Linked DNA regions of Homo sapiens: regions 1, 2, 3 and 5 are each linked to region 4. Evidence: promoter capture Hi-C in 16 types of primary human blood cells and fetal thymus (Javierre and others, 2016). All regions are on one chromosome and are shown on one strand. The core of a region is centred on a gene start or on the middle of the fragment in contact, and the rest is flanking DNA. Distances in the headings are between cores, read along the strand shown.

What was found. The method cuts DNA at HindIII sites, captures the fragments that hold promoters and counts their contacts. A CHiCAGO score of 5 or more calls a contact.
Region 1: a fragment that was not itself captured here is called in contact with the fragment with the promoter of FIZ1 in region 4 in 2 of 17 cell types (fetal thymus and naive CD4 T cells); the score reaches 6.4 in fetal thymus.
Region 2: a contact is called between a fragment that was not itself captured here and the fragment with the promoter of FIZ1 in region 4, in 1 of 17 cell types (fetal thymus). The highest score is 6.0, in fetal thymus.
Region 3: a fragment that was not itself captured here is called in contact with the fragment with the promoter of FIZ1 in region 4 in 1 of 17 cell types (fetal thymus); the score reaches 6.2 in fetal thymus.
Region 5: a contact is called between a fragment that was not itself captured here and the fragment with the promoter of FIZ1 in region 4, in 4 of 17 cell types (non-activated CD4 T cells, naive CD8 T cells, naive CD4 T cells and 1 more). The highest score is 5.9, in non-activated CD4 T cells.

The regions. Positions count from the first base shown.
Region 1 is chr19:55,190,837-55,193,536 of GRCh38, reverse strand. It overlaps PTPRH (protein tyrosine phosphatase receptor type H), which reads left to right. Exons shown (of 20, transcript NM_002842.5): 11 at 1,796-1,874; 12 at 1,989-2,036. Among named protein-coding and RNA genes, the nearest start is that of SYT5, 12 kb to the right of the region's middle. The HindIII fragment of the contact is 4,918 bases long and covers 1-2,700 here.
Region 2 is chr19:55,217,311-55,220,010 of GRCh38, reverse strand. LOC124904771 (a long non-coding RNA gene) reads right to left here. Exons shown (of 2, transcript XR_007067346.1): 2 at 2,586-2,700. Among named protein-coding and RNA genes, the nearest start is that of PTPRH, 9.2 kb to the right of the region's middle. RefSeq lists a silencer at 1,876-2,062. The HindIII fragment of the contact is 5,191 bases long and covers 1-2,700 here.
Region 3 is chr19:55,301,702-55,304,401 of GRCh38, reverse strand. BRSK1 (BR serine/threonine kinase 1) reads right to left here. Exons shown (of 19, transcript NM_032430.2): 9 at 2,234-2,265; 10 at 1,535-1,705; 11 at 994-1,091; 12 at 576-735; 13 at 292-352. Among named protein-coding and RNA genes, the nearest start is that of BRSK1, 19 kb to the right of the region's middle. RefSeq lists a silencer at 867-1,161. The HindIII fragment of the contact is 7,445 bases long and covers 1-2,700 here.
Region 4 is chr19:55,598,085-55,600,784 of GRCh38, reverse strand. It overlaps FIZ1 (FLT3 interacting zinc finger 1), which reads left to right and starts at 1,268. Exons shown (of 3, transcript NM_032836.3): 1 at 1,268-1,311. ZNF524 (zinc finger protein 524) reads right to left here and starts at 497. Exons shown (of 2, transcript NM_153219.4): 1 at 377-497. RefSeq lists silencers at 1-541, 1,252-1,671 and enhancers at 149-1,022, 1,023-1,897. The HindIII fragment of the contact is 10,107 bases long and covers 1-2,700 here.
Region 5 is chr19:55,091,263-55,093,962 of GRCh38, reverse strand. PPP1R12C (protein phosphatase 1 regulatory subunit 12C) reads left to right here. Exons shown (of 22, transcript NM_017607.4): 14 at 730-810; 15 at 887-947; 16 at 1,095-1,180; 17 at 1,301-1,341; 18 at 1,419-1,521; 19 at 1,637-1,741; 20 at 2,054-2,104; 21 at 2,263-2,313; 22 at 2,405-2,700. The coding sequence ends at 2,491. Among named protein-coding and RNA genes, the nearest start is that of EPS8L1, 17 kb to the right of the region's middle. The HindIII fragment of the contact is 7,228 bases long and covers 1-2,700 here.

The DNA of each region.
Region 1 (2,700 bases), core at 163-2,662, 410 kb after region 4:
TTGCCCGGTGTCTCTTTGGGAGCAAAATCACCCTTGTTGAGAACCACTAGTCTAAGCTAAGGAAGGCAAGAATCACTTTTTTGTTTTGTTTCGTTTTGTTCTTTTTTGAGACAGGGTCTCACTCTGTTGCCCAGGCTGGAGTGCAGTGATACGATCATGCCCACCACAGCCTCCACCTCCCAGGCTCAAGTGATCCTCCTGCCTCAGTCCCCTGAGTAGCTGGGACTACAGGCATGTACTACCATGCCCAGCTATTTTGTTGGGGTTCTTTTTGTTTTGTTTTGCTTTCTTTTTCTTTTTTTTTTTTTTGAGACAGAGTCTCACTCTATCACCCAGTCTGGAGTGCAGTCGTGCAATCTCAGCTCACTGCAGCCTCCACCTCCCGGGTTCAAGTGACTCTTATGCTCAGCCTCCTGAGTAGTTGGGATGACAGGTGTGCACCACCATACCCAGCTAACTTTTGTTTTTTTAGTAGAGACTGGGTTTTGTTATGTTGCCCAGGCTGGTCTCAAACTCCTGGGCTCAAGTGATCCACCCACCTCAGCCTCCCAAAGTGTTGGGATTACAGGGGTGAGCCACCATGCCTGGCCAGGAGTCACTCTTCAGCAACCAGGTCACCTGTGAAAATGATGGATAGTTGACCCTTGAACAATTGTCCCCTACACAGTAGAAAATCTGCATATAACAGCCGGGCATGGTGGCTCATGCCTATAATCCCAGCACTTTGGGAGGCTGAGGCAGGTGGATCACGAGGTCAGGAGATCAGGACCACCCTGGCTAACACGGTGAAACCCCAACTCTACTAAAAATACAAAAAATTAGCCAGGAGTGGTGGCGGGCACCGGTAGTCCCAGCTACTCAGGAGGCTGAGGCAGGAGAATGGCGTGAACCCGGGAGGCAGAGGTTGCAGTGAGCCGAGGTCGCACCACTGCACTGCAGCCTGGGTGACAGAGCAAGACTCTGTCTCAGAAAAAGAAAAAGAAAAAAAAATCTGCACATAACTTTTGACTCCCCCAAAACTTAACTACTAATAGCCTACTCTTGATTGGAAGCCTTACCAATAACATAAACAACATACATTTCATCTGTAATATGTACTACATACTGTATTCTTTTTGTTTGTTTGTTTGTTTTTGAGACAGAGTCTTGCTCTGTTACCCAGGCTGGAGTGCAGTAGTGTGATCTGGGCTCACTGCAAGCTCCACCTCCCGGGTTCACGCCATTCTCCTGCCTCAGCCTCCCGAGTAGCTGGGACTACAGGCGCCCACCACCACGCCCTGCTAATTTTTTGTATTTTTAGTGGAGATGGGGTTTCACCGTGTTAACCAGGATGGTCTCGATCTCCTGACCTCGTGATGTGCCCATCTCCGCCTCCCAAAGTGCTGGGATTACAGGCGTAAGCCACCGCGCCCGGCCGTACTATATGCTGTATTCTTATAATCAAGTAGCTAAAGAAAAAAATGTTACTAAGAATATCCTAAGGAAGAGAAAATGTACTCGCTATTTATTAAGTAGATCATCATAAAGGTCTTCCTCCTTGTAGTCTTCGCGTTGAGTAGGCGGAGGAGGAGGAGGAGGTAGGAGAGGGGCTGGTCTTGCTGTCTCAGGGGTGGAGGAAAATCCATGGGTAAGCGCGTAAGTATAACTGGACCGACGCAATTCACACCGTGTGATGTTCGGGGGTCAGCTGTCTTTGGACCAGGCTCCTGGGGAAGAGGAAAGGCTGGGCAGGGTTGGAGACAGATGAGCAGCTCAGACCTGCGCTCTGAGGGTTCCCGATGCCTCCTCCCCACAGGGGTCATTGCCGGAGCCTTTGTGGGCATCCTCCTGTTTCTCATCCTCGTGGGCCTGCTGATTTTCTTCCTGAAGAGGAGGTGAGACTCAGCACAGGGCTGACCGCCTGGAGGGTGGGGGCTGGAGAAGAAGGAGGAGGACCGCTGGTTGCAGCCTCACCCCCTGAGCCTCTCATCCTAACGTCCTTTTCCCAGGAATAAGAAGAAGCAGCAGAAACCAGAACTCAGGGATCTGGTCTTTAGGTGAGCAGAAGGTCTGGGGGGTGCATTGGAAAGAATCTGGTCAAATCAAGGGGTGTTTGCTGGCTGCCAGCTAGGTCAGAGGGTGGATCAATGCATTTACCCACAAAGGTCTCAGAAGGGGCCCATGCCTCTGCGACAGGGACCACGGCCCTTCCATCGTGACTCACTCCCCAAGCAGCCTGGGCCAGCGAATTCAGTTCTGGTCTCAACTCCCGGACATTCATTCATTCAGCAGATATCAGCTGAGCACCAGCATGTATCAGGCACTGTTCCAGGTGCCAAACAAACAGCAAATGAAACCAAGATTCTTGCCCGCCAGGGGCTTATATTCTAGTACAGGAGATATCAATAAACAAGATTGCTGGGTGCGGTGGCTCATGCCTGTAATCCCAGCACTTTGGGAAGCTGAGGCAGGCAGACCACAAGGTCAGGAGATCAAGACCATCCTGGCTAACGTGGTGAAACCCTGTCTCCACTAAAAAATACAAAAAATTAGCCAGGCTTGGTGGCGGGCACCTATAGTCCCAGCTACTTGGGAGGCTGAGGCAGGAGAATGGCGTGAACCTGGGAGGTAGAGCTTGCAGTGAGTTGAGATCACGCCACTGCACTGCAGCCTGGGTGACAGATCGAGACTCCGTCTCAAAAAAATAATAGTAATAAAAAA
Region 2 (2,700 bases), core at 13-2,512, 380 kb after region 4:
TGCCTGTAATCCCAGCACTTCAGGAGGCTGAGGTGGGCAGATAACAAGGTCAGGAGATCGAGACCATCCTGGCTAACACGGTGAAACCCCGTCTCTACTAAAAATACAAAAAATTAGCCAGGCATGGTGGCGGCTACTCGGGAGGCTGAGACAGGAGAATGGTGTGAACCCGGGAGGCAGAGCTTGCAGTGAGCCGAGATCACGCCACTGCACTCCAGCCTGGGCGACAGAGTGAGACTCTGTCTCAAAAAAAAAAAAAAAGAGAAAAAAGAAAAAAGAAAGCACTTTGGGAGGCCAAGACAGGTGGATCACTTGAGGTCAGGAGTTCCAGACCAGCCTGGCCCATATGGCGAAACCCCATCTCTACTGAAAATACAAAAATTAGCTGGGCATGGTGGTGGGCGCCAGTAATCCCAGCTACTCAGGAGGGTGAGGCAGGATAATCGCTTGAATCCGGGAGGTGGAGGTTGCAGTGAGCCAAGATCGTGCCATTGCACTGCAGCCTGGGTGACAGAGTGGGACTTTGTCTAAAACAAAACAAAAAACACTAACAGATGAATCTACCTGGGGAAGTATGTCTTTTTCAGGGGGCATAAAGCTCATCCCTGCTATTATGAACTGAATTTCATCCTCCTTCAAAAATTTGTAAGTTGGCGTCCCAACCTCCAGTACCTCAGAATGTGATTGTATTTGGAGACAGGGTCTTTGAAGAGGTGATTAAGATAAAATGAGGTCACTTTGAGATGCTGAGGCAGATGGATTGCTTGAGCCCAGGAGTTTGAAATCTTCCTGGGCAGCACGGTGAGAACCCCATCTCCCCAGATTTTTTTTTAATTAGCCAAGCTGGGCATGGTGGCTCACGGCTGTAATCCCAGCACTTTGAGACGCAGAGGCAGGTGGATCACTTGAGGTCAGGAGTTCAAGACCAGCCTGGCCAACATGGTGAAACCCTGTCTCTACTTAAAAATAAAAAAATTAGGCCAGGCATGGTGGCTCACGCCTGTAATCCCAGCACTTTGAGAGGCCGAGGCGGGTGGATCACCTGAGGTCAGGAGTTCAAGACCAGCCTGGCCAACATGGTGAAACCCCATCTCAACTAAAAATACAAAAAAATTAGGTGGGTGTGGTGGCAGGCACCTGTAATCCCAGCTACTCAGGAGGCTGAGGCAGGAGAATCTCTTGAATACGGGAGGCAGAGGTTGCAGTGAGCTGAGATCATGCCATTGCACTCCAGCCTGGGCGACGAGCAAAACTCTGTCTCAAAAAAAAAAAAAAAATAGCCGGGTATGGTGGTGGGCACCTGTAATCCCACCTACTCAGGAGGCTGAGGCAGGAGAATCGCTTGAACCTGGTAGGCAGAGGTTGCAGTGAGCCGAGATCGCGGGACTGCACTCCAGCCTTGGCAACAGAGCAAGACTCGGTCTAAAATAAATAAATAAATATATATATACATTATATATATATACACATTATATATATATACATTATATATATATACACATTATATATATATACATTATATATATACACATTATATATATATACATTATATATATACACATTATATATATATACATTATATATATACACATTATATATATATACATTATATATACACACATATATATACATTATATATATATACACATATATATACATTTTATATATATATACATTATATATATATATATATATATATATATATATATATATATATATATATATATATGTAAGCCAGGCATGGTGATGTGCCACTGTAGTCCCAGCTACTCAGGAGGCTGAGGTGGGAGGATCACTTGAGCCCAGGATGTAGAGGCTGCAGTGAGCTGTGTTCGTACCACTGCACTCCAGCCTGGGAGACAGAGTGAGATGCTGTCTCAAAAAAAAAAAAAAAAAAGTCACACTAAGGTGGGCCATAATCCAACCTGACTGGTGTCCTTATCAGAAGAGGAGGTTAGGACACAGACACATGGAGGACAAGGGAGAACACGGCCATTTGCAAGCCAAGGAGAAAGAGGCCTCAGGAGGAACCAACCCTGCCCACATTTTCATCTTGGACCTCCAGCCTCCAGAACGGTGGGAAAACAAATCTCTGCTGTTTGGGTCACCTAGTCTATGCTCTTTGTTGTAGTAGCCCTAGCAAACGAATATACCAGTTTTTATGGAAAACCACACAGCGCCCAGATTCCTGGGTTCCGAACAATGGGGGATGGAATTTTCTCATAGTTTTTGTTTTGTTTTGTTTTGTTTTTGTTTTTTCTTTTTTTGAGACGGAGTCTCGCTCTGTCGCCCAGGCTGGAGTGCAGTGGCACGATCTTGACTCACCGCAGCCTCCACCTCCGGGTTCAAGCTATTCTCCTGCCTCAGCCTCCCGAGTAGCTGGGATTACAGGAGCCTGCCACCACGCCTGGCTAATTTTTGTCTTTTTAGTAGAGACGGGATTTTCAGAACCATATTGGCCGCACTGGTCTCGAATTCCTGACCTAAAGTGATCCACCCGCCTCGGCCTCCCAAAGTGCTGGGATTACAGGCGTGAGCCACCGCGCCCCGCCCGAAGTTATTTACTCAAGACTCAAAAAAGTTATCGATGATCCCATCTGGAGGAAATATGTTTTTTCCATGGGACGCTAAGGACATCCCGCCTTCCCCATCCCCCGCAGTCACTTTTCTGTTTATTACATCAGCCTGTGTTCCCACCAC
Region 3 (2,700 bases), core at 187-2,686, 300 kb after region 4:
GGATAGCAAAGACTTTCTATCATGCTGTGGGCTGAAAACCCAGCCGGTGCAGATACTAGTACACAGCAGGCACTCAACTAACTTTTGTAAAATCTCTTCAGGCATGCAATCCTAAGGAGGTAGAAATGGCCAATGGACCAAAATACTTTGGAGGCCTTGGGTCTTTGGCCCTCCAGGGACAAAGAAGCAAGTCTCAAGACTGCACAGGAATTGTAGTTTCTGCTACTCAATCTTTGCTCCATGTCTCCACCCCTTTCTCCTTCTTAAATCCCACTGGGGACCTGGCCTTACCCTTGGGCTGCTTAGAGGGCTGGAGGACAGACCCGTGGAGGCTCCACTGACGCTACGGGATCTGTTTCCAGGATAGATTTAAAAAAAAAAAATCAGATGGGAGGGTTTCAAAAACCACAGATGTTCCCTCACTTCTACAGTCCTTCCAGGTGAGGAAATGAGGCCCAGAGAGGGGAGGTGAATTGTCCCAAGGACACAGCACATTTGAGGTAGAGCTGGGGTTAGAATCTTGAACTCCTAGACCCAGGGATTGTGGATCCTCCTGGAGGGACAGGGGCTCCCACCTCTGGCTGTGCTGGGCCATCTCCAAGGCCCGTCGGGTGGGTACAGGGGAGCCACCACCCCCGGCATCGGTGATGCTCAGGACTTCCATGGACTTCCGCTCTGGTCGCCGCTTCCCGTGACGGCTCAGCATGGGAGAATCCACACGCTTCCGGGGGGGGTCTGAGGGACAACAGTTTCAACCCAATCAAGAGATGGTTTCACCCAGCTGTGTACAACTGCCTCAGAAACTGCACACATGGGGAAACAGGCCTAGAGTGGAGAGGGGATTTGATAAATGTCAAAGAGCAAGTCAAGCAGTCTAAAGCTGGAAGCTCAGAGCCTGCAGCCCCTTCTTTCCTTGGGAATCTGGGGTCCCCGTGGCCAGCCTCTTCCAATCTCGAGACCCAGGTGTCTGGTCCCCTAGCCCTGCCTTCTCACCAACATCATTCCGGGGAGGCAGGTCCTGGTCCTCACAGCTGGGATACCGCTCCTTCCGATCCAAAAGCAGATAATATATCATCTTTTCTTGGTTCTCCCTAAGGCAGGGGGTGGGAAAGGTGGAAAGAGGTAGCAGAGGGCTGAGGTCCAACATCAATGCTCAGAGGAGGTCTCCTCCGCTCCCTGTATTTCTGCCCATGGTTCCATTTTTTCTAGGTATCAGTATGGTCAGTTTCTCTGGTTTAGGGTACATCTCAGCTGTGTTTCACTCAATTATAATAACACTGTAACACCTAACATCCAGGCAAGAACTATTTGTAAGTACTATGTATATGTAAGTACTATGTCGCAGCATCTATTAATACTTTCTCAGCGTGTTTCTGGGCCGTTTTCTCCGCTGGTTCCATCACTCCCAGGCGGGAGCTTCAAACCATGCCCCATGAGAGGCCAGGGTTCCTCGCCCAGCACTCTGCATGTGCGCAGGGAGCTGCTGCAGCTCGCCCCACGTGGGTACACGGGTGCAGGGGTCTTGGGGTCTTACTCCTCACTGCGCAGCTCGCGATGCAGCCTCTCGCGGTCCCTGAAGCAGCCCAGTGATGCCATGCTCTCTAGGACGTCGGGGTCCAGCTCTCCGTTGGATGGCAGGCTCCGCATGGCTACCCGGCGGCCAGGGGCTGGCTCCAGGCACGGGTCTGGCTCGTGTTTCCCGCCTCTGGGGAAGTGGAGAAACATTATTGGGAACCGGGCTTCTGAGATTCAGCATTCTTCATTCTAGACTCAATGATCCCGGACCCCGAAATCCGAGTCTAGGCCCCGGCCCCTTCTCTCTCATACCCAGGAATCCAGACGCCCCAGACCTCGCCCCCCATCTCAGACCCAGGAGTCCAGACCTCCAGCCCCTTTTCCCTCCGACCGAGGGGTCCAGGCCCCCGGCCCCTCCTTCTTCAGACCCAGAAGTCCAGGCCCCCAGCCCCTCCTCCCTCGGATCCAGGAGTCCAGGCCCCCAGTCCCTTTTTCCCTCAAACCTGGGAGTCCTGGACTCCTAGCTTAGCCCCTCCTGCCTCTGACCCCTAGACTCCTTCTCTAGCTGTGTCCTCTTCCCCCAGGACCCATAAGTCCGAGTCCCTAGCCCGTTGCCTCTCAGGAACCCTGGCATCCCACCCCTCCCAGCCGCTTCTACTGCTTTGGCCCCTCCCCTATTTCCGCCAGGGACCCAAGAGTCCAGTTACCCCATACTCACAGGTACCAAGGATGTTTCTGAATTTGCTCCAGCTGTGAGGGTGGTGAGTCGTAGAGAAGCAGAAGTGAGGTCGTAGGCACATGTAGGCGCGCAATGAAAGACTGGGGTGGTTTTGGGGTCCCTGATCATCTCCCCGCCCACCCCACCGGGGGCAGGATGACATATTACATCGCCCTCTAGTGGCGACTGAGTGCATCGCCCCGCGCACGCGCGGTCTCCGTGTACCCCGGACCGGCCGCATTACTTTGCCGCATGCGCAGTGGCATCCTGTTCGCCTCCTTACTCCTGCGCCCTCCCGCTGCCTGGAGCTCCCCGCCCCAATCTTGCGTAGCCCCCTCCCCAGTTTGGAGCGGCAGCTGTGCTGGACCTTGGGCTGCGGCTCAGCTGGCGATCCCAGTCACCCTGGGGACTGACGAGCAGGTTCTGGAAACCCATCCCCATGACTTTTCTAGGGGGTTCTGTCTTCA
Region 4 (2,700 bases), core at 19-2,518:
CCACCTTTCCATACGGTTCGCTCCCACGGGGTAGCCTAGTCTAGGAGTCTGGTCTTTGGAACGGTGGAAAGGGGGAGACTGGTCCCCCGACCCTCCCCGTCCCCTCGCCCCGGTACTGACGCGCCCATCGGCCCCCGAGCTGCGAAGCCCAAGCGCGGGGCGGGCCCTGCGGGGGCGACGGCCAATGAGCGGCGCCGGGTAAGCGGGCGGCGGGGGCTGCCAGGAAGGGGGTCTGCGCGCGCGCGCCCGGACGGCTTCGCGGGGCGCGAGCGCGGGAGCAGGAACAGGTGTTGGAGGCGCGCTCCGGGAGCGCGCGGCCCGGCCTCCCCTACCCCCACACCCCCCCTCCCGCCTGCGCCCCCCGCCTCTCGGGTACCTCATTTGCATGTCGCCGGGGCTCGCGAGTGTGCGCGCGCGCGGGGGCAACGGGGCCGGCGCGTGGGAAGGGGAGGGGGTGAGGGGGCCCTGCCCCTCGGCGGCGGCGAGGCGGGGGCGGCGGCGCGCGGTGCCGGCCCCGCCCCTCGGAGAAGCGCCGGGCCCCTCCCTTCCTGCCCTTCCCGCCCGCCTGCGCGCCCGCGGGAAACAAAGGGGACTCGCTGGGTCCTAACGACCGGTCGCGGCCACGCCCGGAAGCCGCGCCTGCGCACCGGCGGCCCTGGTGTGTCCCCAGTGGGAAATAACCCAGCACCACATCCCCAACCACCTCGAAACGCCTTTCCTCTCACAAAGCCCACAGTCGGGTGACCCAAAGACAGATACCGAATGATGAGGAGCGGGAAAATGGCTGCCCAGTGCCCGTAATTAACATGGCACCGGACAGGCTTCGAAGCCCATGGAGTGCTAAGTGGATAAGATGGTGCCGGTCTTTTCCAGCTCTGTATTGCAGTTGGCGCACTTCGCTTTCTTTTTTTTTCCCTAGTCCAACTGTACATCCTAATCGGAGGAGTCCGAGGCTGTGAAAAAGAAATAGTATCTGCTCTCATTTACGTTAGCATCGCCTAGTGTCGCCACGGAGAAGCCCCCTCGCTCTCAGCTCCTTGCCCTTAGTCTGTATGGCGCCGTGGGTGTCCCTAAGCCCCGCCCCTTCCCGCTGCCCTCACCCAAGATGGCGCGGGCCTGGCTTCTTCAACCTCCAGGGCTGGGAAAGGAAAGGGAAAGAGGGAGAAGGGCGGGGATGAGGAAGGGGAGCCAAGAGGGCGGGAGAAAGGGGGAGTACGGCGGGGGAAGGGAGCTGAGGCGGAAGTCGAGGGGCCCCCCGGGTGGAAGTGACGCTGCCCCCGCTGCCCAAAATGTCGGCGCCCAGAGGGAGGTGTAAGTAATTAAAGAGGAAAGCCGACGGACTTCCCCGGCCTCCCGGGGCCGCCCCGGGTCTCCAGGACCAACGCTCCGTACGAGCGAGGTGGACTCGCCTGGCCCCGGGGCCTGCCCGACCTGCCCCCCAACCGGGCGCCCAGGGCTGCACCTTTTAGGGGCAGGGGGAGGGGCACAAAAGGCCGGCTCTCGGGGCCTGGGGCCTGGAGCAGACTGGGCAAGTGGGGGGGCCCGCTCCTCAGGCTGCGGGGTGGAGGAGGAGGCGGGGCCTAGTGGCTGCTGGGGCGGAGCAAGGGCTGGGAGGAGCCTGAGTTGGGCGGAGCTTAGAGTGGAAGTGGGAGGGGCGTGGAGGAGGGAGAGTCTGGATAGAAAATGGGAGGGTCTTAGGCAAAGAGGTGGGGTTTGATAAAGGGGCGTGGCTCAGAAGGAATGGTGGGTAGGCCCTGGATTGAGGGGTGGAAGGAAACTCATTGAGGCTGGTTGGGTAAAGGGAGCCCAGGAAGCAGGAGGGAGGAGTTTAGAGTAGAAGGGATGGAGTTTGTCTGGGGTGTGGCTTAGAGAAGTAGGTAGGCCTAGTGAGGGGGGTGGAGTTTAAGGGTGTAATTTGGAGGGGTTTAATGCAACTATCAGGTCTTTATAATGAATGTGGAAAGGACTTGCAGGGGATGGGAATAGACTTCGTAGAGAAGGCCTGAGAAGGTGACGGGAGTCCAGTGGAGAGTCTTAGAAAGGATGTGGCTTCTTTAAAGGAAAAATTGGGTGGAGTTTTGGAAGTGGGTCTTAGTGGACCCGAGAGGGGCTTAGATAAGTCAAATAACTTAGCAATCATGGTAGGACTTAAGGAGGAATCCAGGAGGAACTTACGGGATAATAGTCATCCAAACAGCTTACTTGTTGCGTCTTTGCTGTGCACCAGCTTAAGTGGGCACGTAGCATTTATTGCCACAATTTTACTTAATTCTCGCCACCACTCCATGAGGTAGGTACTACTATTCCCATTTTACAGATGAAGAATTTTTATTATCTGATGTTACAGGAGTAATTCTGGTCTCCCTGCAAGGATGACTCCAGTGTGCTTAGCCCCAAATCTTTGCCCTCCCATTCGCTAAGTGGTCATCCTGGAAGAGGAGTGGGAGGAGCTTAGAGGGGAGTGGGAGGGCCTTTTGGAAGGAAAAGGGCTTGGCAAAGAATACAAGATCCTTAGGGAACATTGTGGGGGACTTTGAAGGGAGTAGGTGGGACTTAAGGAAGAGTGGGAGAGGCTTAAATTACAGTGGGAGGGGCACAGAGAGCAGTGGCCGCGCATTGGCGAAGAGCGAGGAGAGGCTTAAAAACACTCCGTGGAGTGAGGAGACTATGAAGTGATTAGGAAGATTTTGCCACAGGCGT
Region 5 (2,700 bases), core at 13-2,512, 510 kb after region 4:
CTGGGCTCCTGGGTCTGAGGGAGGAGGGGCTGGGGCCTGGACTCCTGGGTCTGAGGGAGGAGGGGCTGGGGTCTGGGCTCCTGGGTCTGAGGGAGGAGGGGCTGGAGGTCTGGACTCCTGGGTCTGAGGGAGGAGGGGCTGGGGCCTGGACTCCTGGGTCTGAGGGAGGAGGGGCTGGGGTCTGGGCTCCTGGGTCTGAGGGAGGAGGGGCTGGGGCCTGGGCTCCTGGGTCTGAGGGAGGAGGGGCTGGGGTCTGGGCTCCTGGGTCTGAGGGAGGAGGGGCTGGGGCCTGGGCTCCTGGGTCTGAGGGAGGAGGGGCTGGGGTCTGGGCTCCTGGGTCTGAGGGAGGAGGGGCTGGAGGTCTGGACTCCTGGGTCTGAGGGAGGAGGGGCTGGGGCCTGGGCTCCTGGGTCTGAGGGAGGAGGGGCTGGAGGTCTGGACTCCTGGGTCTGAGGGAGGAGGGGCTGGGGCCTGGACTCCTGGGTCTGAGGGAGGAGGGGCTGGAGGTCTGGACTCCTGGGTCTGAGGGAGGAGGGGCTGGGGCCTGGACTCCTGGGTCTGAGGGAGGAGGGGCTGGAGGTCTGGACTCCTGGGTCTGAGGGAGGAGGGGCTGGGGTCTGGGCTCCTGGGTCTGAGGGAGGAGGGGCTGGGGCCTGGGCTCCTGGGTCTGAGGGAGGAGGGGCTGGGCCCTGACCCCAGCGTCCCCTGACTGTCCCCTTTCCCTGCCAGGGTGTGACTCTTACAGACCTGAAGGAGGCAGAGAAGGCTGCAGGGAAGGCCCCAGAGTCAGAGAAGCCGGCGCAGAGCCTGGTGAGAGGGGTCAGCGAGGGCGAGTGGGGTGGTGCGGGATGTCCTGCTTCCCTGACTCGCCTCCCCCTCCCGACAGGACCCTTCCCGAAGGCCCCGCGTCCCTGGAGTGGAGAACTCTGACAGCCCTGCCCAGAGAGGTGAGGTCTGCTCTCGGGGAGGTCATTCCCAGGGAATCATCCAGTTTCTCCCATAGTCTTCTTGCTTTCCTGGGGGCTTGACCCGGGGACCCAGGCACCGAGAGGGGGCTCTGGAGGTGCCTGGGCTGATTCCTGCCCCTCCCCCAGCAGAGGCGCCCGACGGGCAGGGTCCGGGACCGCAGGCGGCCAGGGAGCACCGCAAGGTCGGAAAGGAGTGGAGGGGGCCTGCGGAGGTGAGGGGCTCAGGTGGGGCCGAGCTGGTGCAGAGGGTGGGCCGGGGGGCGGGCAAAGCCCTTCCCATACCCGCTAAAGTCCCTCCCATACCCATTGAACCCCCGTCTACCTGCCCACAGGGGGAGGAGGCGGAGCCGGCTGACCGCAGCCAGGAGTCCAGGTAGGGGCGGGGTGGGAGAGGTGGGGTCTGCGTGCGGGCCGGGCCGGCCCCTGACGCGCGCTCCTCCCCTGCCCCAGCACCCTGGAGGGCGGCCCCTCGGCCCGCAGGCAGCGGTGGCAGCGGGACCTCAACCCAGAACCTGAGCCAGAATCGGAAGAGCCAGACGGAGGCTTTAGGACGGTGCGATCCCACCCCTCCGTCGGGGCTTTGCCTGCTGGGTGCCCAGCTTCCTGGCTTCCCCGCCCCCCCAGCATCGCCCCATCCTCCACCTGACCCTCCTCTACCTGACCCCCAGCTGTATGCAGAGCTGCGCAGGGAGAACGAGCGGCTTCGCGAGGCCCTGACCGAGACCACGCTGCGGCTGGCGCAGCTCAAGGTGGAGCTGGAGCGGGCCACGCAGGTAAGGGCGCCGAGGCCAGGGTCACGGGAACTGGCAGGGCCGCCTGGGTGGGGCTTAGACTGCTGGGAGGTAGAGCCTGGCCTGGGGGTGCCGGCGGGGCTGGGCTTCACTTGAGGGGCGGGGCCGAGATCTCGGAGGCGGAGTCTGAGCGAGGGGATGGGGCTGTGGGCCTGCCGGTGGCGGGGCCTGGCCCGTGGGGGAAGGGCTTGTGGGCTGCCTAGTGGGCGGGCGGGTGCCCAGCAGGAGCCTAGGACCCTTCAGAGCAGTGCTGGCTTCTTCTGCTGACCCCTGTGCTTTCTGTGTCCTCACCAGAGGCAAGAACGCTTCGCTGAGAGGCCAGCCCTCCTGGAACTGGAGAGATTCGTGAGTAGGGGCAGTGGGGATGGGGGCCAGAGGCGTCCCCAGCCTCACATCCCTAAGTTTGGACCAAGGGAGCCACATTGCCCTTCCCAGCTGGCCCCTGGCCTTCCCCTGCCCTCCTCAGCCTCACTCAGTTTCTGCACTTTCCCTGTTCATTCCAGGAGCGCAGGGCCCTGGAACGCAAGGCCGCAGAGCTGGAGGAGGAGCTGAAGGTGGGGGCTGTGGGGGCTGTGGGCAGAGGGCCGAGGGTGGGTGGGGGTGCAACCCGCCAGGGCTGCCCAGCTGACCCTTGCCGTCCCCCAGGCCCTGTCTGACCTCCGCGCTGACAACCAGCGCCTCAAGGATGAGAATGCAGCGTTGATCCGCGTCATCAGCAAACTCTCCAAGTGACCCGGAGGGACTTTCCCGCACCCGTATTTATACAGCTGCTTCTGCCACACGCACCCCTTCCCCCGTGTGAACACGAGTGACAGGGCTCCGGGGGAAGTCTCAGAGAAGCCATAGCCCCCCTGGGACCTCCGGACTGGGAGGGGAGCAGAGTCCCCAGGAGCCGAGGGGGCCACCCGAGGCCAGGATGGAGGTGGGAGGCCGAGCCAAGC